Linked DNA regions of Homo sapiens: regions 1, 2, 3 and 5 are each linked to region 4. The links are contacts of gene promoters, found by promoter capture Hi-C in blood cells and fetal thymus (Javierre and others, 2016). All regions are on one chromosome and are shown on one strand. Each heading gives the region's core, a stretch centred on a gene start or on the middle of the fragment in contact. The rest is flanking DNA. Distances are from core to core; before and after follow the strand shown. Region 1 overlaps PDE8A (phosphodiesterase 8A). Region 2 overlaps ALPK3 (alpha kinase 3). Region 3 overlaps SLC28A1 (solute carrier family 28 member 1). Region 4 holds the start of ZSCAN2 (zinc finger and SCAN domain containing 2). Region 5 overlaps PDE8A (phosphodiesterase 8A).

What was found. Contacts are between HindIII fragments. The CHiCAGO score rates a contact against its expected background, and 5 or more counts as called.
Region 1: a fragment that was not itself captured here is called in contact with the fragment with the promoter of ZSCAN2 in region 4 in 1 of 17 cell types (naive CD8 T cells); the score reaches 5.2 in naive CD8 T cells.
Region 2: a contact is called between a fragment that was not itself captured here and the fragment with the promoter of ZSCAN2 in region 4, in 13 of 17 cell types (erythroblasts, M2 macrophages, naive CD4 T cells and 10 more). The highest score is 8.8, in erythroblasts.
Region 3: a fragment that was not itself captured here is called in contact with the fragment with the promoter of ZSCAN2 in region 4 in 1 of 17 cell types (M0 macrophages); the score reaches 5.7 in M0 macrophages.
Region 5: a contact is called between a fragment that was not itself captured here and the fragment with the promoter of ZSCAN2 in region 4, in 1 of 17 cell types (naive CD4 T cells). The highest score is 5.6, in naive CD4 T cells.

The regions. Positions count from the first base shown.
Region 1 is chr15:84,991,798-84,995,888 of GRCh38, reverse strand. The region is part of intron 1 of PDE8A (phosphodiesterase 8A); the gene reads right to left. Among named protein-coding and RNA genes, the nearest start is that of PDE8A, 12 kb to the right of the region's middle. RefSeq lists a silencer at 2,997-3,291. The HindIII fragment of the contact is 8,126 bases long and covers 1-4,091 here.
Region 2 is chr15:84,866,162-84,870,520 of GRCh38, reverse strand. ALPK3 (alpha kinase 3) reads right to left here. Exons shown (of 14, transcript NM_020778.5): 13 at 3,156-3,204; 14 at 1-2,410. The coding sequence ends at 2,065. Among named protein-coding and RNA genes, the nearest start is that of SLC28A1, 16 kb to the left of the region's middle. The HindIII fragment of the contact is 5,124 bases long and covers 359-4,359 here.
Region 3 is chr15:84,889,771-84,894,119 of GRCh38, reverse strand. It overlaps SLC28A1 (solute carrier family 28 member 1), which reads right to left. Exons shown (of 19, transcript NM_004213.5): 5 at 3,586-3,677. Among named protein-coding and RNA genes, the nearest start is that of SLC28A1, 7.3 kb to the right of the region's middle. RefSeq lists an enhancer at 3,875-4,349. The HindIII fragment of the contact is 2,956 bases long and covers 691-3,646 here.
Region 4 is chr15:84,598,875-84,603,240 of GRCh38, reverse strand. It overlaps ZSCAN2 (zinc finger and SCAN domain containing 2), which reads right to left and starts at 2,232. Exons shown (of 3, transcript NM_181877.4): 1 at 2,106-2,232. LOC105370947 (a long non-coding RNA gene) reads left to right here. Exons shown (of 4, transcript NR_186225.1): 4 at 3,438-3,807. RefSeq lists a silencer at 1,865-2,014 and an enhancer at 2,335-2,384. The HindIII fragment of the contact is 3,007 bases long and covers 1,612-4,366 here.
Region 5 is chr15:85,011,362-85,015,762 of GRCh38, reverse strand. The region is part of intron 1 of PDE8A (phosphodiesterase 8A); the gene reads right to left. Among named protein-coding and RNA genes, the nearest start is that of PDE8A, 32 kb to the right of the region's middle. The HindIII fragment of the contact is 4,702 bases long and covers 1-4,206 here.

The DNA.
Region 1 (4,091 bases), core at 1,523-4,022, 390 kb before region 4:
ATGCACCACAAAGCACTCTCACATGCTCCTTATGAAATAAAAATCTGACCACAAGGCAGGGTAAAGTAGTGCATGCCTATAATCCCAGCCACTCAGGGATTTTTTAATTACAAAATTTCATCACATTTTCCTGGAGGGCAATTTAACAATATTTATCGTGAGCTTTTAAAAGTTAATCGTGTAATATTATGAACTACTGAGACATGAAACATAGATGAATCCCAAAAACATAACGCTTAGGGAAAGAAGTCTTATATAAAAGTACATACACTGGGCGTGGTAGCTCACACCTGTAATCCCAACACTTTGGGAAGCTGAGGCAGGAGGACTGCTTGAGCCCAGGAGTTTGAGACCAGCCTGAGCAATATAATGAGACCCTGTCTCTACAAAAAAAATTTTTTTAATTAGCCAGGAGTGGTGGTGCGTACCTGTAGTCCCAGCTACCCAGGAGGTTGAGGTGGGAGGAGGATCAGTTGAGCCAGGGAAGTCAAGGCTGCAGTTAACTATGATCACAGCACTGCACTCCAGTCTAGGCAACAGAGGGAGACCCTGCCTCAGAAAAAAAAAAAAAGGTACATACTGTGTAACTCCACTTATATTAAAATTAGAACAGGCAAAACTAATCTGTGGTAAGAAAAAAATCAGAAGGGTGGTTGCAAGAAGAGATTGTCCAATAAGGAGCATAATGAAACTTTCTGGAATGAAAATAATGTTCTATAACTTCATAGAGGTTTGGATTACGCAGATATATGTATGCGTTTGTCAAAACTCAGCAAATATACACTAAATATTTGTGCATTTCACTGTGTGTAAATGTTGCTTCAAAAGGAAAAAACCTAAGCAAATATCAAATTCATGCTGAAATATTTAAGGGGAAGTATAGTATACTAACATTTACAATTGCTTTTTCTCTCTTTTTTTTTTTTGAGACAGAGTTTCGCCCTTGTTGCCCAGGCTGGAGTGCAATGGTGTGATCTCAGCTCACTGCAGCCTCTGCCTCCTGGGTTCAAGCGATTCTCCTGCCTCAGCCTCTAGTAGCTAGGATTATAGGCACCTGCCACCATGCCCAGCTAATTTTTTGTATTTTTAGTAGAGACAGGGTTTCACCATGTTGGTCAGGTCTTGAACTCCTGACCTCAGGTGATCCACCTGCCTCAGCCTCCCAAAGTGCTGGGATTACAGGCGTGAGCCACCGCTCCCGTCCTCACTTGCAATTACTTTAAAATATATCAAAGAAAAAGGAGTATGATAGGTAGAAGAATGGATACATGGATATATGTGATAAAGCAAGTACAGTAAAATGCTAATGTAAAATACAGGCATTGGGTACACAGGGGTACCCTGTGAAAAATCCTTCAAGATTGCTGTATTTTGAGATTTTTCATAAAATGTTAAAAATACTAAAAAACAGTAAACAGCCACAAGGCAGCCTTCTGGAATGCTGGAAATGTTCTGTCTTGATTTGGCTGGTGATTACATGGGAGCATGAGGAAAATTCATCAAGCTGTACACTTAGGGATTTTGTACACCTTGGCTGATTACATTTATAACTCAATAAAAAGTGTTTTTAATACAGCAATCAGAATAGGACTTTAAAGTGAGTGTAATTAATATCCTCAAAGAGATAAGGAAGTATGCTGCAACCATAAAACATGAATAAGCAATTAAGAAAAAAGAGCAAACCATAGACTGAAGACAAAAACTCAAATTTAAAAACTCAGTGGGCTAAAGAGCTGAGTAGACCTTGAGGAATGAATTCGTGACTTAAAATATTGAGCTAAAAAATCCTCCCAGAAGATAGCACAGAGAGGGGAAGTAAAAGAAAAGTGAAGAGACACGGAGGACAGATCAAGATGCGTCTCAATCTATCTTTTGGAGGGAGCTGCAGAAGAGAAAATGAGAAAACTTAAGGGGACAACATTTAAATAAATAATAGTTAAATGTTTCCTAGAACTAAAAAACAAAACTGCTTAAAAAATATTTTTGTTTTTTGCTTTTTAAGAGACAGGGTCTCACTCTGTCACCCAGGTTGGAGTGCAGTGGCACAATCATAGCTCACTGCAACCTCAAACTCCCAGCCTCAAGCAATCCTCCCACCTCAGTCTAAGTAGCTGGGATTACAGGTGTGCACCACCATGCCCAGCTAATTTATTTATTATTATTTTTTTTTATAGAGAATGGGGGTCTTACTATGTTTCCCAAGCTGTTCTCAAACTCCTGGCCTCACGTGATTCTCCCATCTTGTCCTCCCAAAAGTGCTGGGATTTACAGGCATGAGCCACTACGCCCAGCCCAAAAAAGTTTTTAATTATAGTTATTTAAAGCAATCTACATGGATGGAAGGAAACACACCACCATTTTAAGAGACATTATCTCCTGACTGTGCAATTTAAGTGATTGTACAATTTAAGTGATCCTTGTTCTTTTTTTTTTTTTTTTTTTTTTTGAGATGGAGTCTCGCTCTGTCGCCCAGGCTGGACTGCAGTGGCGCGATTTCGGCTCACTACAAACTCTGCCTCCTGGGTTCATGCCATTCTCCTGCCTCAGCCTCCCAAGTAGCTGGGACTACAGGCACCTGCCACCACACCCGGCTAATTTTTTGTATTTTTAGAAGAGACGGGGTTTCACCGTGTTAGCCAGGATGGTCTTGATCTCCTGACCTTGTGATCCGCCCGCCTTGGCCTCCCAAAGTGCTGGGATTACAGGCATGAGCCACCACGCCCAGCCGATCCTTGTTCTTTTCTATATGTTTCAAGTTTTCTACAATGAATATGACTTTTACAATCAGGAAAAGTAAAAGTTTATTTTTATAAGATGAACTCAGAACCAAAAGACAAGAAAGGTTTTTTAAAAACTCCCTAAATTCGCTTTCCTGTGACTTCTCCCTTATGCTATTACAGTGAACCTGTTTCTGTAAGTGGTCACCACAAACTTGAACAAGTCATTCAATCTCTGAATTTCTGCTTCTTTAGGCCTTAAACAGGGAAAATAAAATCCCTCCTTTCCACCTCCCCATGGTTTGGGGAACATCAAATGAGATGAGGTACAAAAATAGCATTTGGTAAACCATAAAGCACTGTACAAATTGTGGCATGTTATCACAGTCCTTCTAAGCTGGTAAACCCCAACCTCTGAGTCACCCTCCACTCTCCGCCCTTTCACTCACCAAGTCCAATTTGTCACTAGTCAGTTTTTCCTTCTCTCATTCCCTCCTCTCCCAAACTACTGCACTAAGTTAGTCATACCTGGTCATACCTTGTGCCTGAACCACTGCAATAGGTCCTGCATAGTGCCCCACCTCTAGCTGTCCCTCACCCCACCTACTGCAATTTTTGCCTGAAACCTAATCTTCATGAAACATGTTTATCCTTTGACTACCCCGCTGAAAATGAAATGCCTTTGGGAGTTCTCTGAGGTTTATAGGATGGACTTCAAACTCCTCAACCTGGCTTTTAGACCTCCCGTCCTATCTCTGGTCAGCCTCCTCATAATTGGAACATGCACCCAACCCCCGTACCCTTCCTTCCCCTTATCCAGAGATATATTTTCCACTTATCCACATCCTCCCAGTCTTTTAAGCCCAGGTCAAACCTCTCCCTCCTTTCCTCTTTCTATACCTTATGACCAATCCAGACCAAGCTCTTGCCTCCACAATCCATCCCCCAAGGTGCCATCATCACTTCCAGGTCAGAGACCTACCCCACCTTTCCAGAAAGGACTAATTGTTCCCTGAGAGCAGGGCCTGTTATCCTCCTACAGCCTCTATATTAGGCACTCAAATTAACATGCTAAACATTTAAGTCCTTAAAATAAACTTTATTTGCCTGAACTGATTTTATGGTAAGTTTTAACACCTATGTGTGTATTACTATATATTGTTTAGCTATTAATCTTTTTTTTGTTGTTAGAGATGGGGTCTTGCTATGTTGTCCAGGCTGATCTCAAACTCCTGGCCTCAAGTAATCCTCCTGCCTCGGCCTCCCAAAGTGCTGGGATTACAGGTGTGAGCCACCACTCCCAGCCTATCAATCTTTAAATAAAAAGAATCATAACTTACAGATTTTTTGATGGCTTCTTCTTTCTCTCCACTG
Region 2 (4,359 bases), core at 1,671-4,170, 270 kb before region 4:
AAGTTGGTCCAAGTTCATTTCTGTTGGTCAAAACTCAAGAATCCTAACAAGTAGTCTCTCCTGAGATGGCCTCATACATCTTTGCCTCCAAACAGCTGCCAGCCCAGGGTCTGGCATAAAGTAGCACTCAGTATATGTCTGCTGAATGAGTGGGTGAATGAATAAATGAATGAACAGTACTCCAGCTCTCAGTTCACCAAAGTAATCTGGGTATACAGGCTGGGAGAGGTGGGGACACACTGGGGCAGAAGATGTGGAGTCACCTGAGCACAGAGGAGGTAGAGAAGTCAGAGATGTTACCATAGAGGGGAAATGTTAGGCAAGGGGAGGTTCCGGGTGGGGGTGGGAATGAAAAGCTTCTCTGCAGCTTGAGAAGCAGGAAATGGTCAGCAAGTAGCTGAGAGGCAGGTGCTGGTGGGCTCCTGGGCTGGTCTTGCTGTAGCCAGAGACACAGGGCGTTTCCAGAGCCCCCAGCTCTGTGCTTCCTTCCTGGGTGGCTTCCTTTGTGTTCCTCTTCTGAATGAAGAGCAATTCCAAAGGCGTAAGTCCCCAGACACCCTGCTAAGGGGTACACACCAGCAGCTCAGTTGTGCAAGCAGCACAAGCTGTCTTTCTGTGGCCACAGAAGGCTGCGACTGAACTTCGGTCCAGGAACCAAAATATAGATTCATTTTTCCAGTGGGCCTGGGACTACAGAATGCCCTCAGAGAGCCTGCCTGGGAGAGGGGGACCTTGACTCCACAGACCTCCAACCACACCAGATGAGGGCAAGCAGGGCACACAATGCTGCCTTTATTGCATTCCAAAGGGAGTAGGCTAGCTGCAGACCTACCCCATCCCAGGCCTCCAGGAGGGATGCTCTGGAAGGATCCAGGCTGCTGGGTCCTTGGGAGCCCATACATGAGGACCCAGAGCTGGGGCCCCAGGATCAAGAGCGATGGTTGGAGCAGGGGTCCTAATTCCCAGGCACAGAGACTCCCCTCCACCCAAGTGCATGGATAGACTGCATCCCTCCTAGAACACCCAAGTGTACTCCCCATGGGGAAGGGACCTAGCCCTCCACTCCTGGTTGAGAGGGGATGTGAAATTCACTGTGACCCCACCTCCTTTCAGTATGGAGTGCAAGGTCTCTCAGAGTCAACACCTCTCTCTGGCTACAGCTGCTGACACAACCCTCACACCAGCTCTCACCTCATGAGCAAAGAGCCCGAGAGAAGTTGGGGAAGAGAGCACTGAAGTGGGGTGAGAGGCCAGAGGGTCTGTTCCTCACCTGGGTATTGGTGGGCAGGGAGTGGGGAGCCCTCAAGCAAAGGGCCATGTGCAGAGCCATGAAGGGCAGGCAGCAGGCTGCAGCTGGGCCCCAAGACAGGGATGTGGCGAGGGGGTACAAGGGAGCATGGGAAGCAGGCGAGTGAGTGAAGGGGGAAGAGCGTGAACACACATCAAAGGCCACTGCACAAGGACATGACAGGCTCTGGAAGGGCCCTGAGCCCCATCTGGGCTCAAGGATGGTTAGTTGCAGGATAAGCTGAGATCAGTGAGCGAAAGTAGCTGGAAGGAGAAGATACCCTGAGAGTCACCAGGCCAGACCAGCAGAGGAAGTCTGGATCCCTGAGGACAGGCGAGATCAGGGCCAGGCAAATGCAGGAGGGTAAAAGTTGGCCTGCATGTCCTCACTCAGATTGTAACATCTGCTGCTGGACTGGGCTGGGGCAAGGGCTTGGGGTGCAGAACTCATGCAGAGGACTCAGGGGAGCCTCCAGCAGTGGCAAAGTGTAAACTTCAAGGAGGGCCTAGGTTGCCAGGCACTTGGAGGTGGGGACTGCTTGAGGCCCGGGAGCCCTGGGTGACAGTGGCACCAGAAGAGGCCAGTGGGCTATGTGCCATGCACCAAAGCCATCTGATGACGAGCTGATTCACGAGAGCCTGCTCAGAGAGGTCCCCAAGTGGTGTCTCCTTCGTGCACCTTCTCCAGTTAGTTCCATATTTGGAAAGTCTCCATCCAGTTCAAGCTGCTTCCTGGTTGGTCTGCTGCTGGGTGGAGGCCCCCAGCCTCTGCGGAGGCTACCGCATGCCCTGGGCCTTGGAGCCCTCCTCTTGGGTGGGAGGCTGTCCCAACAACTGAGTGGTGACTGGCTCTGAGGCCTGAGGGGTGGCCTTGGAACTTGGAGCACTCTTCCGGGTGCCCTGAGGACTAGGGAGGCCTTTCTTCTGGGGCTGAGGACTCAGCTGGGAGCCTTTCCTGCCAGCAGATGGACTCTTAGAGCCTTTGGCTTTGGCTTGGGGGTGGGCCGCCTCCGGGCCCTTGAGAGGTGTCAGCCCCAGCAGCTCACAGTAGGCATTGCACTGGTGGGAGGAGGCGAACCGGTCCAGCAGGGCAGGGAAGCAGCTTTCCTTGAGGCCCTGGTATCTGCAGCCAGACAGGAAGAGCTGAGTGGGGGTCCCAACCAGAGACACAGTTCCTTGGGGGGCGGACTCTGGGGTGGCCATCATCAGGATGTCGTGCTCAGGGTACATCCTACCTTATCTGAGGGTGATGGGGACTCTCCCTTGGTGCTACCTCAGGTGGCAGCAGCCAAAACCTCAGTTTTTCTTTTTAAAAAAATAGAGACAGAGTCTCTCTACTTGGCCCAGGCTGGTCTCAAACTCCTGGGCTCAAGAAATCCTCCCTCCCCAGCCTCCCAAAGTGCTAGGGTTAGAGGCGTGAGCCACCATGCCTGGCCCAAGGCCTCAGTTTTAAAACTGTGGTCTCATTACACCCTGACACATGGAATCCATCACGCAGGACTTTAAATGGCATAAGAATGGCTTAGCTTCTGAACATAAATTGGAGCAGACTCGAGGTCCGCACTCTCATCACAGGACCCTTACTCATCGGCACCTTGGCAACCATCCTCAAGCGAGAGGGGAGGAGTATGTGAGAGCTCTGGATTGCAGGGGACCCCATGTGTGGCATCAGTAATAGCTGCCACACCAGGCCAGAGATAAGGGGTGGGGACCAGTAGCCCCTAGGATGTTACCACATGGCCATGGGTGTGTCTGGGACCACTTGGCCCCAGGCCCAGCACCTCAGGGATGGAGAACCAGAAGGGCTTAGGACATTTTACACCCTGAGAAGACGCCCAGAGGGCATTCTGTCCCCAAGAACCACTCACCCTCGGAGTTTGGTAGCAATCTGCACATCAGTCATCTTCCAGTCAACCCCTGAAAAGAGAGAAAGTTGGGAGTTGATGCCAGTCTGGGCTGGCTCTAAGCCCCCACATCTCCAGCAGGAAGATATACTGGGTGGCTTAGAACCATGTCTCTTCCTGCTGGAGACATGGGGGCTTAGAACCAGCCCAGGCTGGCATCAACTTCCTGGGTGTCAGTGCAGGTGTGTCTTCAAGCATCTTCTCATGGGTCATCACCACCAGCCTGTCTCACAGCATGCAGGTCTCTGGATTATTACTAGGAATAATATTCATATTTTTACAAGTGAGGAGGATAGGCTCAGAGTTAAATGGCTTGAGCAAAGTCATACTCACTCATTCAATAATTGAGCTCTGGCCATGTGCAATGGCCATTTGACTTAAAATAAGGGTTCCGTTTTTTTGGATTCCTAGAGCCAAAACTCTTCCAGCTATGCAATCCTGCCTCTACTGGATCAGACCAGGTCACAACCTGGACCAGCCTCTAGCTTTGAGCTAAAACCTTCATCCTCTGAACAGATCAGTAGTCTGTCCAGACAAAAGAGAGGGATGGGAATGAGAGGATAAATCAGGGGTAGACCAGCAGAAATGCAACACTACAGAAGACTGGCTTCTGCACTACTTACAAAGGCAGCAAGCAAGCAAGAAGCCAAGATGGTCTTCCAGGTTAAGCCTTGGAAGGGCAGAGCCAGGCAAAATGATGATAGAGAAAAAACGTTTTCACTGTGCTCAGGCCACCCAGGTATCTTAGTATTCACACATTAGGTTTAGGATGCTCTTTCCCCCATTTTCAATCTGTCCAGAGCATTTTGCTAGGAACCTGCCTTTCACTAACAGGGCTGAGTACCATCATATGATAGACAATAACAAATGTGGCCTCTGGAGTCAGACAGACCTGGATTTACATTTCAGCTCTACCACTTCTGAGCTGTGGGTACTCGACAAGTCACTTCATATCTCTAATCTTCAAGTGTAAAGGTGAGGATAGTAATGACCATCTTACAGAGTATTGAGAAAATCATAATATGTGTAGGACTCTAACTTAGTGTCTGAAACATAGGACTAATGTGATAAATATTGATTTATTTGTCATTTCTCTTTTGGCATTCATAGCATTCCATTTTGTGTAAAAATGATGATCTCTCTCATTTGCACAGAATTTTAGTTTGCA
Region 3 (4,349 bases), core at 919-3,418, 290 kb before region 4:
GATTACAAGCGTAAGCCACCGCGCCCGGCCTCTCCCTGGCTTTTGAATTTCAGAATCCAGGATCTTCGAAGAATGGAAAGGACTCATAGCCATGGATAAAAAATGTGATCTGAAACATCACGAATAAAGGTAAGTTCTACCCAACCCCTCTGGTACAGGCAATAACAAGGACACTGGTATCACAGAGAAAGCGCCTGAGCCTGGCAAGGCCGCCAAGCCAGGTGTGTTTGCAGCATTGCAAGCAGTGAAGCCCTGTGACTGGCTTCCTGGTCGAGTCCCAGGGAGGTCCCAGGACTGCAGAGAGAGGAATGCCCGTGTGGTGCGTGGCAAGCAGGGCCCTAGAAAGCCAGTGAGGCTCTGCAGGCACCAAAACAGCGGAACTAGTCTCCACGAGAGGCCTGAAGAGAAGAGAGGCGGGAGACCAGAATGAGCCCACCATGGAGAAGAGGGGGTCGCCATGGCCACCTGCAAGGATAGAGGACCCAGGACCAGCTGGAGAAGTGGACAGGTCAGGAGACACTTGAGGAGTAATGATAGATAAGCCCCCCCGGTGACCCCCAGAGGAAGGGATGAAGGGAGGTTCCAAATGGACAGAAATTGAGTTCCCGTCACTCACTGGAATGATAACATTGAGGGAGAAGATAAGTTGAGTTATAAAAAATAAAATGACCTTTCTCTCACATGGAAGCTTGTGGGCTGGAGTTCCTACCTGAACGGGTGTCATTGAGACACACGGGTGGAGCCCCACAGAGCGGTGCTGGGGCTGCTGGCACCGGCCATGGGGGTTCAGGGGAGGGGGACCTGGCCAGGGAGAGGCTCCGTGGTCGCCAGGAGGTGAGCTTGGCACTTCAGATGCATTTTCACAATGAATCCTCACAAGACCCCTACAAGGTGGGGTCTACAGTGATGCCCACTTGGAGAGGGAGGCCTCTGAGGCCAGCCGAGATGAGTGCCTCACACAGGGAGGGCATGGGGCTAGGAGGCCAAGAAGGTCTGTGCGCCTCAGGGCCTGTGCTTTGTGGTCGGGGCGGGCCAGGAAGGCTGGGGGGGTCTGGGCAGGCCAGGATGGGGACTCAGGGAGAGGGGGCAGTGTGGAGGGGTCCTCCAGGAGGGGCACAAGGACAGAAGTGCTTTTGGAAGTATTTTATTCATCTAGGATCCATTCACAGGGATTGGTTTGGGGACGGGCAGGACCTGAGCTAAGCTCCTTGAAGACCTCCCTGGGCTTTGGCTGGGAGAGCGGGCAAGAGGCACCTCCTTCTTCTAAGACTGGGGACACCAAGGCCATCCTTGTTAGTCTGATGGTGCCAGCGCTGTCGCTGCACCCATGGAGAAGGCCTACCTAAGGCAAGCAAGCCACTGTCGCAGCTCAGGAGCCAAGTCCTGAGAATATGAGCCTCATTTCTCTATCACAGCTATTCCCAGAACGTCTGTGAACAGCCTCCCCAGGAAAGAGGTGATGTAATAAAGATATTGAAAAGCCAGAGAAATCAAAGTCACCCAGAAACAGAGAAAGTCACTGCTGACCATTGCAAGGGATCATTCAATGATTCAGATTGCATTCCTGACAGCCATGGCAAACATGGAAATAGGATGAGTGGGGTAATTTTCATTCTCTACTGGAGAGAATTCAATTGTTCTTCAAGAGAAACAAATCAGATCTGAGTGAAGGAGGCAGCCAAGGAAACAGAGATGGCCCTGGCTTCAGACCCTGCCAAAGGTGGACATCACCATCTCTAGAAGGAAGCTGTGAGGGACATGGACCCACCCCATCTCAGCAGATGACCCTACTTTCAAGTTCACCAAGCAGACCAGGTCATTGCTGTCGCCTCTCTCACTGCCCCTCCCCTCCAGAGCACCTATAATGACTCTGCATCTGTACCCATCCTCCTTTTTCTTTTTTTAAAATTTATTTTTATTTTTAAAATTTTTTGTAGAGGTGGGGTCTTGCTGTGTGGCCCAGGCTGGTCTCAAACTCCTGGGCTCAAACAATCCTCCCACTACAGCCTCCCACTACATCCTCCCAAAGTGCTGGGATTACAGGCATGAACCACCTGCCATGCCTGGCCCCTCTTTAATTCCAACCTGTCAGAATGAGGTGAGCTTGCTCCTGCAAAGACCCACCCCTCCCGGTGGGGTGGGGAGCTTTTCTACTCCGTGCCAGGGGACCTTGCTCCATCGGACATCTCTTCATCTCCCATTCCTTCATATTCCTTCTACAAACTCCCCACCTCAGCTCGTACAAACAAAGTGTCTCCCACCCCAAACTCATGCCCATCCTTGACACTGGGTCACACCCTGCCCATTCAGCCTCCCCGCCTGATCTCATAAAAATTGATCCAAAAAGCCATTTACACTTGCTGTCTGCACAGCCTCATCTGCCATCCGCTCCAATTCAGTTTTTGCACCTACACCCTAAGTCACCAGTGGCCTCCTTGTCCCTAAATCGGTGGACATGGCTCAGTTTTTGTCCTGCGGGTCTTGCAGAGATGCTGCTGATCTTTCCCTCCTTGAAACCCTTGCTCCTTTGGCTGCCGCCAACCCCTTCTGTGTGGCTGGTCTCCAGGCTTCTGTCCTTGACCCACTTCTCAATTCATTCTCCAAGTGTGCCTGGGGAGCCTCCTCTCTCCCTCAGATGGCCTGGCAGTGGTACCTCCAACAAACTATCCTAATTATCCCCCTTCCTGCCAAGACTCCCTCTGCACGCATGTTCTCTAGCTCTGTGGAAGACACCATCATCCTCCTATCACCCGAGCAGGCCCCTGGGGCAGCCCTAATTCAGGGTTTCCTTCATGCTGCACACCCAGTCATTGCCAAGTACAGCTAGCATTGCTTCCCAAGGACCTCTCCCATTGCCCCCGCCCACCTTCCACAGCTTCATTCTCACACAGGCATTGCAGTCCTCAATGTCTCCATCTCCCCCTCTTTCCTGCCCTCCTTCCAGGGTCCCACCGTGTGAATTCCACCTTGACGCTTCCCTGTTCAAAACCTTCAGTGGCTCTCTCTGGCCTTGAGGGTAAAATCCAAGTCCTTGAGCATCCTCCCATATCCCTACCCACTCCCCATCCTGGGCCCTTTCCTATCTCTCCAGCCCCATCCCCTGACACTCCTTGTCTAGAACTTTACCCTCCAGACCTTACAGTGCAGACGTCGAACTTTATCGAAACCCACACCCTGCCAGTTTTCACCTTTGCTCCTGTGACTCCTCTGTGTGGAGTGCCTTTGCCCTCCTTAGTATCTATCACCTCCACCTGGCTAACTCCTACTTAGCCTGTGAGACTCCAATGTCACCTCCTCCTGGAAGTCCTCCCTGATCATCCCCCATTCCTCCTTGGTGTTCCCAGATGACATGCTGCATTATGTGGGACTATTTCTTCCGCCTCCCTTACTGATGAGGGAGTGCCTTGGGAACAAGATCTGGCCTGGCTTAACAGATGCCTCAGTACCCAGCAAGGGAGCTGGACCTGAGTTGGTGCTCAACAACCATTTGTTGAATGACTGGGTGAGTGAATGACCCTGCCCTGAGACATGGATAGCTGAGGCAGGAGTCATTGTGTCCTGGGTAGTGCTGGGCCCCAGGCTCACCAGTGCAGAGCAGGCCTGTGCCGATCCATCGAAACAGCTGCATGTGCTCCCTGCAGAAGCTTCTGGCTCTCAGGGCTGGCTGCAGGTTCCTCCTGGGAACAAGACCAGCAGGGTCCATGAGTGCATGAGCAGACCCCATCTGGGGGAGATCCTCAGCACCTCCACTCAGGTATGTCCCCAGTAAAGTGGCAACAGGGGCAAGCCAGGGCTTGCCTTGACATCCCCACAGGGCTGCAGGGCAACCCCAGCCCAGGGCAAATGTAGAAATGGTTCAGGCCTTCCTGCCTCTGTGGCAGCACCCACAGGCCCCACTACCCCAGTGATAGTCCCTGCCTCCAGGGCTCAGGAGGAAGTTCACTGAAAAGGCAGAACCTCATCAACATACAGAAATGTGGCCGGTGGGGGGGCGCGGTGGCTCACACCAGTAATCCCAGCACTTTGGGAGGCCCAGGAGCGTGGATCACTTGAGCCCAGGAGTTCAAGACTAGCCTGGGCAACATGACAAACCCCTTCTCTACCAAAAACACAAAAATTAGCCAGGCATGGTGGCGTGCGCCTGTAATCCCAGCTGCTCAAGAAGCTGAGGCAGGAGAATCTCTTGAGCCCAGGAAGGGTTCGTGCCACTGCACTCCAGCCCAGGCAACAGAGTGAGACCTGCCTAAAAAAAAAAAAAGAGAGAAAGGAAGGAAGGAAGAGAAAGCAAGCAAGCAAGAAAGAAAGAGAAAGAAAGAAAAAAGAAAAGAAAGAAGGAAGGAAGAGAGAAA
Region 4 (4,366 bases), core at 983-3,482:
TGCACTGTGTGACCTTGACCTAACATACAACTTAGTCACCAAACTCGGTGACCACCTAATAAAGATAATAACACTCATGTTTCTGTTTTTATGGGGGCATCTTAAGGATCAGCAATGGATCAGATGTCAAAGCACTCTGAGCTTCTTTGGAAGAAAGGCAATATCTCAACTGCATTATTACCATACTTTAAGTATGAAGTTTAAAACATGCATATACTCTCCAATCCAGCCTCGGCCCCTCAGTACTTTATCTTAAAAAAATAACCAAAAAATCGAGTCCTTAAAAATCCAGCAGCAGGGAATGGCTAATAAACTATGACACACCCATATAGCAGCATGTATTAGAAACTGTGCTATAGGCTTGGCGTGGTTGCCTGTAATCCCAGCACTTTGGGAGGCCTCGGCAGGCGGATCACTTGAGGTCAGGAGTTCGAGACCAGCCTGGCCAATATAGTGAAACCCCGTCTCTACCAAAAATACAAAAATTAGCCAGGCATGGTGACGGGCGCCTGTAATCCCAGCTACTCAGGAGGCTGAGGCAGGAGAATTGCCCGAACCTGGGAGGAGGAGGTTGCAGTGAGCCGAGATCGTGCCACTGCACTCCAGTCTGGGCGAAAGAGCCAGACTCTGTCTCAAAAAAAAAAAAAAAAAAAGAAAAGAAAAGGAAAAAAAAGAAAAGAAACTGTGCTATAATAATGGCTACCTTTAGGTGGTAATGACAGGAAAGGGGCTCAAAGGAGCCTTCTGGGATGATGGAAATTTTCAATATCTTCATTTGGCAATGGCGGCACAAGAGCAAACATATGAAATTTAAGATCTGCACATTACGCTGTATGTTTTTAATATTTTAAAAATTATATTGACAAAGATTAATCATTAATGATTTAAGATAATCCTTCTGATAGGAAAATAATGGATAAACACAAAATCAGCAGGGCAGAAAAACCATAGACACAGTAAGTCCTCAATTCCCTTTAAAAATGAACTCACAGCCGGGCGCGGTGGCTCAGACCTGTAATCCTAGCACTTTGGCAGGTTGAGGCGGGCGGATCACCTGAGGTCGGAAGATCGAGACCAGCCTGACCAACACGGAGAAACCTCGTCTCTACTAAAAACAAAATTAGCCAGGCGTGGTGGCGCATGCCCGTAATCCCAGCTACTCCGGAGGCTGAGGCAGGAGAATCGCTTGAACCCGGGAGGCAGAGGATGCGGTGAGCGGAGATCAGGCCATTGCACTCCAGCCTGGGCAACAAAAGCAAAACTCCGTCTCAAAAAAAAAAAAAAAAAAAAATGAACTCACAGGAAAAAAGAACGGGACGGCACCTACAAAATATTGAAAGCAGTGGAATTGCAAACGACTTAAAATATTATAAAAGCAATACAAAATTATTTTTAGCCCAAGCGCTGTAGCTCACGCCTGTAATTCCAGCACTTTGGGAGGCCGAGGAGGGAAGATGGCTTGAGGCCGGGAGTTCATGACCAACCTGGGCAACAGAGTGAGACCCAGTCTCTACAAAAATAAAAAAATTTTTTAAAAAATCATTACTACATCATAAAGACTCAACTAACAACCCTCCCTCAATGAAAAGGGGAGAAAAGCTGACAAAAGCTTAAAAAAAAAAGGACAAAAAATAAAAGCTAGTGGGAAAACCGAAGCTCTCAACGTGTATTTACTCAAATGACTAGAAGAAATACTGGCATATGGTGTAAGAGAACTCTTCCTACTTGGGAGCCTGGGAAAAGTGTGCCAGGTCAGCTAATTTGCGGTCTGACTTGGGGCACGACACGCCCCCTCTGAACCTCAGTTTCCCCATCTGTAAAACGTGTACGCTGCGCGGGATGTCGTCGAATGCCCCTTCCCGTCCAAAGCCTGCGCTTCTCGGTAGGAGAGGCAAGGAGCTCTCCGCCAGGGAGACGCGTCCGGGACGGTTCGCTGAGCGGAGCCGGCGCGTAAATCGGGGCTGCAGGGCCCGCAGGATACGGAGCGCGACCCCGACGCCCCTCCCCCAGCAGAGCTGCCGGCAGCTGGCTCCAGGCCCACTATTCCCTCACCTCGGGCTACTGCCCGGGGTCCGCGTGGCTCCAGGCCTGCCTCTCCGGCTCACCTCTCGGGAGACCAGGTCCTGCTCTAGCGGTTGCTTCGCGTGCGAAAGCGCCCCCGGGCTCGGCCCGGCCCCTCCAGATTCACCCCGGCTCAAGCCCGTGGGGCACCGAGAACAATGGACGGGAGAGGCCCGCCCACCGCCGCGCTCATTGGCTGCCGAGAACGGCCCTGGAAATTCTGCCTTTCTGTTGGTGGAGACGGCACCCAGCCGGGCGGCAGGAGGGAGGCTGGGCCCAAGGCATTGTGGGAGATGTAGTCCGCCCGGAGACGAACCTGACCGCGGTCCCCGGAGTAGGGTTTGGGGCTGACAGCCTGGGCAGTGCCTGCGGACCAGAGGCAGGAAAATCCGCAGACTGACCGTCAGAAACCCTGTGTTGGCTAGAGCTGTAACCCGAGACAAGCCGTTTCACTTATCTAAGGCCTCTGTATATTTGTCTATAAAAAGTGAAAGTTGGATGGCCGGACTTGAAGGACCTTTTCGGCTGCGAACCTTGTGGCAAGGAGTATTGTTAGGCACCCTCGACCGGCGAGAGCGGACCCTGGGCAGGAAGGGAATCCATGGGGGAACAAATCCTCATCGCCCAAGCCTGGCGCCTTTCCCCCAGTTTGCAGCTGTACACATGCACCCGGTCTTCGCACACCCCTTTGTTTTCGCACGTGGTATTCCTGTGTTTGGAGGAACGCCCTGCCCCGCCTCCTCTGCCGCGGAACTCCCATTCTTCCAGCTTCTCCTGGGTGGAGCCTGCCCTGTCATCACCACCTCCCCAGGCAGAGACACCGCCCCTAGTACACGTGTTGGACGTCCCCATTTTATTTTTTAAATATATATATGTATGTATTTGTATATATATATATATATTTATTTATACACACACACTCACAGACAGGATCTACATTTCATAGAGACAGGGTTTCCATATGTTGCCCAGGCTGACCTCGAACCCCTGGGCTCAAGCGATCCTTCCTCCTCAGCCTCCCAAAGTGCTGGAATTACAGGTGTGAGCCACCGCACCTGGCTGACGTCTCCATTTTAGTACTGATCACCGGGTTGCTTACTTGTCAATCTCAGTATGGGGGAAGGGAGGGTGCCCGGGTGTGGGAGGTTGGCCTCCATCTTTGTGTTTTACGGCTGGCGCTGTTGAAGAAACGGCTGCCCCAACCCTGCTTGAAAACAGGTGAGAAACTACCTGGAAACTCAAGCGGAAAATCTAAAAATGGAGAGAGACACCCTTAATGGTCTGTGATAGAATAGTTATGTATGTTTGCACTGAGCAATTACTGGAGGCACCTGCAATGAAATGACTGCTTTTTTTTTTCCTCCTCTGTCGCCCAGGCTGGAGTGCAGTGACACGATCTCGGATCAAGTGATTCTCCTGCCTCAGCCTCCCAAGTAGCTGGGATTACCGGCGTGCGCCACCACACCTGGCTAATTTTGCGTGTTTTTAGTAGAGACAGAGATTTCACCATGTTGATCAGGCTGGTCTTGAATTCCTGACCTCAGGTGATCCAGCCGTCTTGGCCTCCCAAAGTGCTGAGATTACAGGCATGAGCCACGTGCCCGGTCCTTTTCCCATTTTTAAATTGGATTTATTTGTAAGAGCTCTTTGTATATTAAGAAAATTATCCCTTTGTCACAGCAGTTGCTACTCTTTCTCAGTTTGCTGTTTGTTTTCTGCTGGTTTATTAAATATAGAAATTTGAAATTTTTTTGCAGTCAAATTTGTTAATCTTATCTTTTTATAGCCTGTGAGTTTTGTGTTAGAAAGTCCTCTGCACCACTCCAAAGATTATGTGAAATTCACCTGTTTTTCACTAATTAACCTCTTGAATCCAATTACAGAGATGCAAAGTGAAGTTCAGCTAGTGATTCTTATCCAATACCCTGGTAGCATCTTTATTATCCCAGACTGACCACATGCAAATAGCACCACCTCCAGGCCAGCCTGAGAAGTCTGCACTAAGCCCCTGGATGCAGAATTCTGGGCCACCACCCCTCCAAGTGATTTTTTTTGGGATGACATTGTATTAAAAAAGATGGGTTTCTCCATGTGTCCATCCTTACCAGGAATGGAAATTTACACAAAAAGGAAAAGATGCAGGGGAGGCTGGGGATGCACAGATGGAACTTTCCAGCAGCTCAAGCGTTTATTTACCTCTGTTCCTAACCCATGTCAACCCTTGACCACAGAACTGGCACTAGCTTGTCACTGGAGAGTCCTAAAGAAGCTGTCTCCTCTGTGTCTGATTCTGGGAAGCTGGTCC
Region 5 (4,401 bases), core at 606-3,105, 410 kb before region 4:
ACGACCCTTTGGAGAGAGTCTAGAGTGATATGGACAGATAGTTAACAAAAAAAGGAATGCAGAGTTTAAACATGTGAAAAGATGCTCAATCTCAATCACGATATGAGAAGTAAAATGATAACTAAAAACCATAGTGAGATATCACAAAATATTCTATGGCAAGGCAGTAGAGAAATAATACTTTCTGATACACTGCTGGTAAAAATTCAGAATGGTACAACCCTTATAGAGGGAAATTGAACAACACCTAGCAAAATTCACATTAAAAAACAAAAAAGATGACTCTCAGCACTTTGGGAGGCTGAGGCAGGTGGGTTGCTTGAGCCCAGTAGTTTTGAGACCTGCCTGGGCACCATAGTGAGACTCCATCTTTACAAAAATTAGCCAGGCGTGATGTGGTCCCAGCTACTCAGGAGGCTGAGGCAGGAGGATCACCTGAGCCCGGGAGGTCGAGGCTCCGGTGAGCTGTGATTGCACCACTGCTCTCTAGCCTGGGCAACCCTGTCCAAAAAAAAAAAGACTTATGCACAAGGTCATATAATAATGTAGGGAAACAACTCAAATGTTCAAATGTTCACCAACATGAGCTGGTTAGCTAAGGTATAGACAGATCAAGCCGGTGGAGCACTGTGCTGCTAAAAAAGGAAGGAGGAACTGATTCAAACTATTAATAAAACATGGATGAACCTTGAAAACATTATGCTAACTGAAAGAAACCAGACACAAAGGCCAGAAATTATATGATTTTACTTAAATCAAACGTTCATTGGTAAATTCAGAGAGACAGAAAATAGATTAGTGGTTGCCAGAGGCTGGGGGTGTAGCGGGTAAAGGGGCAGGAGGCAATGGGGAGGGACTGTTATTAGGTACAGGGTTTCTTTGATGAAAACATTCTAGGATTAGTGGTAATGGTTGCACAACTTTGATTATACTAAAAAACCAATGAATTGTCTACTTTATAAGGGCGAGTATATGAATTATATTTCAATTTTTTTAAGAATGAACAATTCCTCCATAGACAACTATGGAGTGATCCCAAGGATATGCTGTGAAGCGAGAAAAGCAAATCAAGAGTACTATGTACAGTATGCCACCATTTCTCTAAAAGGGGTATAAATATATGAACATCAATATAGGTAATAAGAGCAATTGACTGAAACATATCAAATACATTAAAATACTTAACTTCATAGTAATACAAATAACATTTAACAGGTCCCCTTTGGAGGATATTAGGAAGTCAAACCATTATTCTGAAAACTGGTATAATAAATGGAGAACAAGAAACAAGCATTTATCCTGCCTATGCTATTCAAACTTTATCACATAGTTAATGAGAGGAGCTTCTCTTTATAGAGGTATTCAGTATTAAATGAAAAAGTAATGAGAGAATTAGAATATCACCATTTGCCGCCATATCACCACTAATGAATGAAATATGTGATGACTGTGGCCAGGACTAGTGGCCCGCACCTGTACTTCCAACTCCTCGGGAGGCTGAAGCAGGAGAATAGCTTTAGCCCAGGAGTTCGAGGCTGCATTAAGCTATTATCATGCCACTGCACTCCAGCCTGGTAGCCTGGGGGACAGAGCAAGACCCTGACTTTAAAAAAAAAGAAAAAGAAAAAGAAAAAGAAAGGAAGAAAGAAAGATGTGATTATCATCACAAGATCGTGTATCATCTCCACCCTGAATCAAGGCTGGTATATGTAATGCATAAAATACAGTGGAACTGACAATATGTAGTCTAGGCTAGGTCAAACAGGGCATTGTAGCTTCTGCTTTGACTTCCTGGATCACTTCTCTGCGGGAAGCCAGCGGGTACCTGAGCAGCCCTGTGAAGCTGACACACATGGAGAGGAATTGGGCCTTTCCTCAAACCCCAAAACATCCTGCACTAACTTGGCCAATCATATGAGTGAAGCACCTTGGAAGTGAATCCGCTGGCCCACTAAAGGTTTTGGATGACCAAAGACCCAGCCAACACCTGACTGCAACCTCAAGAGAGACTATGAGCCAGAACTATTGAGCCCCGCTTCTCTCAAATTCCTGAACCAAAGAAACAGTGAGAAATAAATGCTTATTACTGTTTTAAGCCAGTAAACTTTGGGGTAATTTGTTATGCAACAAATACAACATAATTCTACTTTTGTACATGTTATAAATTCTCCACAATAAAATATTTCAAAATACTAAGTTGAGTAATTACAGACAATCCTTTAAACACAATTCCTTTATTCTGGCAAACACATATAATAGATTAAATTGAAGGAGAGGAAGAAAGAGCTAATAAAAATTTGTTGCTTTTCTACCTCACTGCCTTAAGAAAAGTATCATTTATCACATTATCTCAGTTAATCTCAAAAACTCTAAAAGATAGAATTCATTATTCCCATTTTGCAGATAAGAAAAGTGATGCTCAGAGAAGATAATAACTTGTTAAAAGTGCACAGTGGTAGAGGCAGGGTATAGGAAGTCTCTGTTCTTTCCACCACATCTCAAAGCCCTTTTAACCTTGTAATTTCTCTATCAAGCCCATCAGGATCAAAGTTGCTAAGGTCCAAATCTGTGAATTTTGTATGTAAATACTACCTTCCATCCCTTACAAAACATCTCTCTGCTTCCCCTGTTCTCACCAACAAATGCAGGGTCATTTAGTGTAGCCCTTAATTCTAAGCAACTAGAAATTGATGAAGAAAGAAAAAAGTGACAAGAGTACAAAGCTCCATTTAATATCCCCAGATTTCTGTTTAACTGTGGATGGGGCTGTTCTTCAGGAAACGATTATTAGAGTTAACAGTGGATCAGGTTCTCCAAAATTCTCCCACTCCCACTCTTTTGTTTCCAAAGTAAGAGGGTGATTATACAAGCCAATATAATATTATATTTCCTTCTTTGTTCCCAAGGGTAAATTGTATAACTGGGTATTATATAATCATTTATAAATCATCAAAATTAATTTCCAAATAAATTCTTAAAAAGAAAGCCCTAATCTACTTTTCGGAGTCTAACAATACTGTATGTTAAAACCATTATTTTCTTCTTTTTTTTTTATTCTATTATTATTATACTTTAAGTTTTAGGGTACATGTGCACAATGTGCAGGTTAGTTACATATGTATACATGTGCCATGCTGGTGTGCTGCACCCATTAACTCGTCATTTAGCATTAGGTATATCTCCTAATGCCATCCCTCCCCCCTCCCCCCAACCCACAACAGCCCCCAGAGTGTGATGTTCCCCTTCCTGTGTCCATGTGTTCTCATTGTTCAATTCCCACCTATGAGTGAGAACATGCGGTGTTTGGTTTTTTGTCCTTGTGATAGTTTACTGAGAATGATGATTTCCAATTTCATCCAGGTCCCTACAAAGGACATGAACTCATCATTTTTTATGGCTGCATAGTATTCCATGGTGTATATGTGCCACATTTTCTTAATCCAGTCTATCATTGTTGGATATTTGGGTTGGCTCCAAGTCTTTGCTATTGTGAATAGTGCTGCAATAAACATACGTGTGCATGTGTCTTTATAGCAGCATGATTTATAGTCCTTTGGGTATACACCCAGTAATGAGATGGCTGGGTCAAATGGTATTTCTAGTTCTAGATCCCTGAGGAATCACCACACTGACTTCCACAATGGTTGAACTAGTTTACAGTCCCACCAACAGTGTAAAAGTGTTCCTATTTCTCCACATCCTCTCCAGCACCTGCTGTTTCCTGACTTTTTAATGATTGCCTTTCTAACTGGTGTGAGATGGTATCTCATTGTGGTTTTGATTTGCATTTCTCTGATGGCCAGTGATGGTGAGCATTTTTTCATGTGTTTTTTGGCTGCATAAATGTCTTAATTTGAGAAGTGTCTGTTCATGTCCTTCGCCCACTTTTTGATGGGGTTGTTTGTTTTTTTTCTTGTAAATTTGTTTGAGTTCATTGTAGATTCTGGATATTAGCCCTTTGTCAGATGAGCAGGTTGCGAAAATTTTCTCCCATTTTGTAGGTTGCCTGTTCACTCTGATGGTAGTTTCTTTTGCTGTGCAGAAGCTCTTTAGTTTAATTAGATCCCATGTGTCAATTTTGGCTTTTGTTGCCATTGCTTTTGGTGTTTTAGACATAAAGTCCTTGCCCATGCCTATGTCCTGAATGGTAATGCCTAGGTTTTCTTCTAGGAAAACCATTATTTTTCTAACAATAAAGTTGAAGCTTCCCTTTTAGGCAACTGCAATTTATTGAGTGTTTTATAATTTTTTACACATTGACAGACCATTTTACATTCAAAATTTAATTAAAACTGGACAACTACCACCACTTTACAAATAAGAAAAAGCTAGGGCCCCGAAAGGTTATGAAACTTGCCAAAGGTCAAAAAGCAGGGAGAGACAGGGTTGAGTTTTGGACCA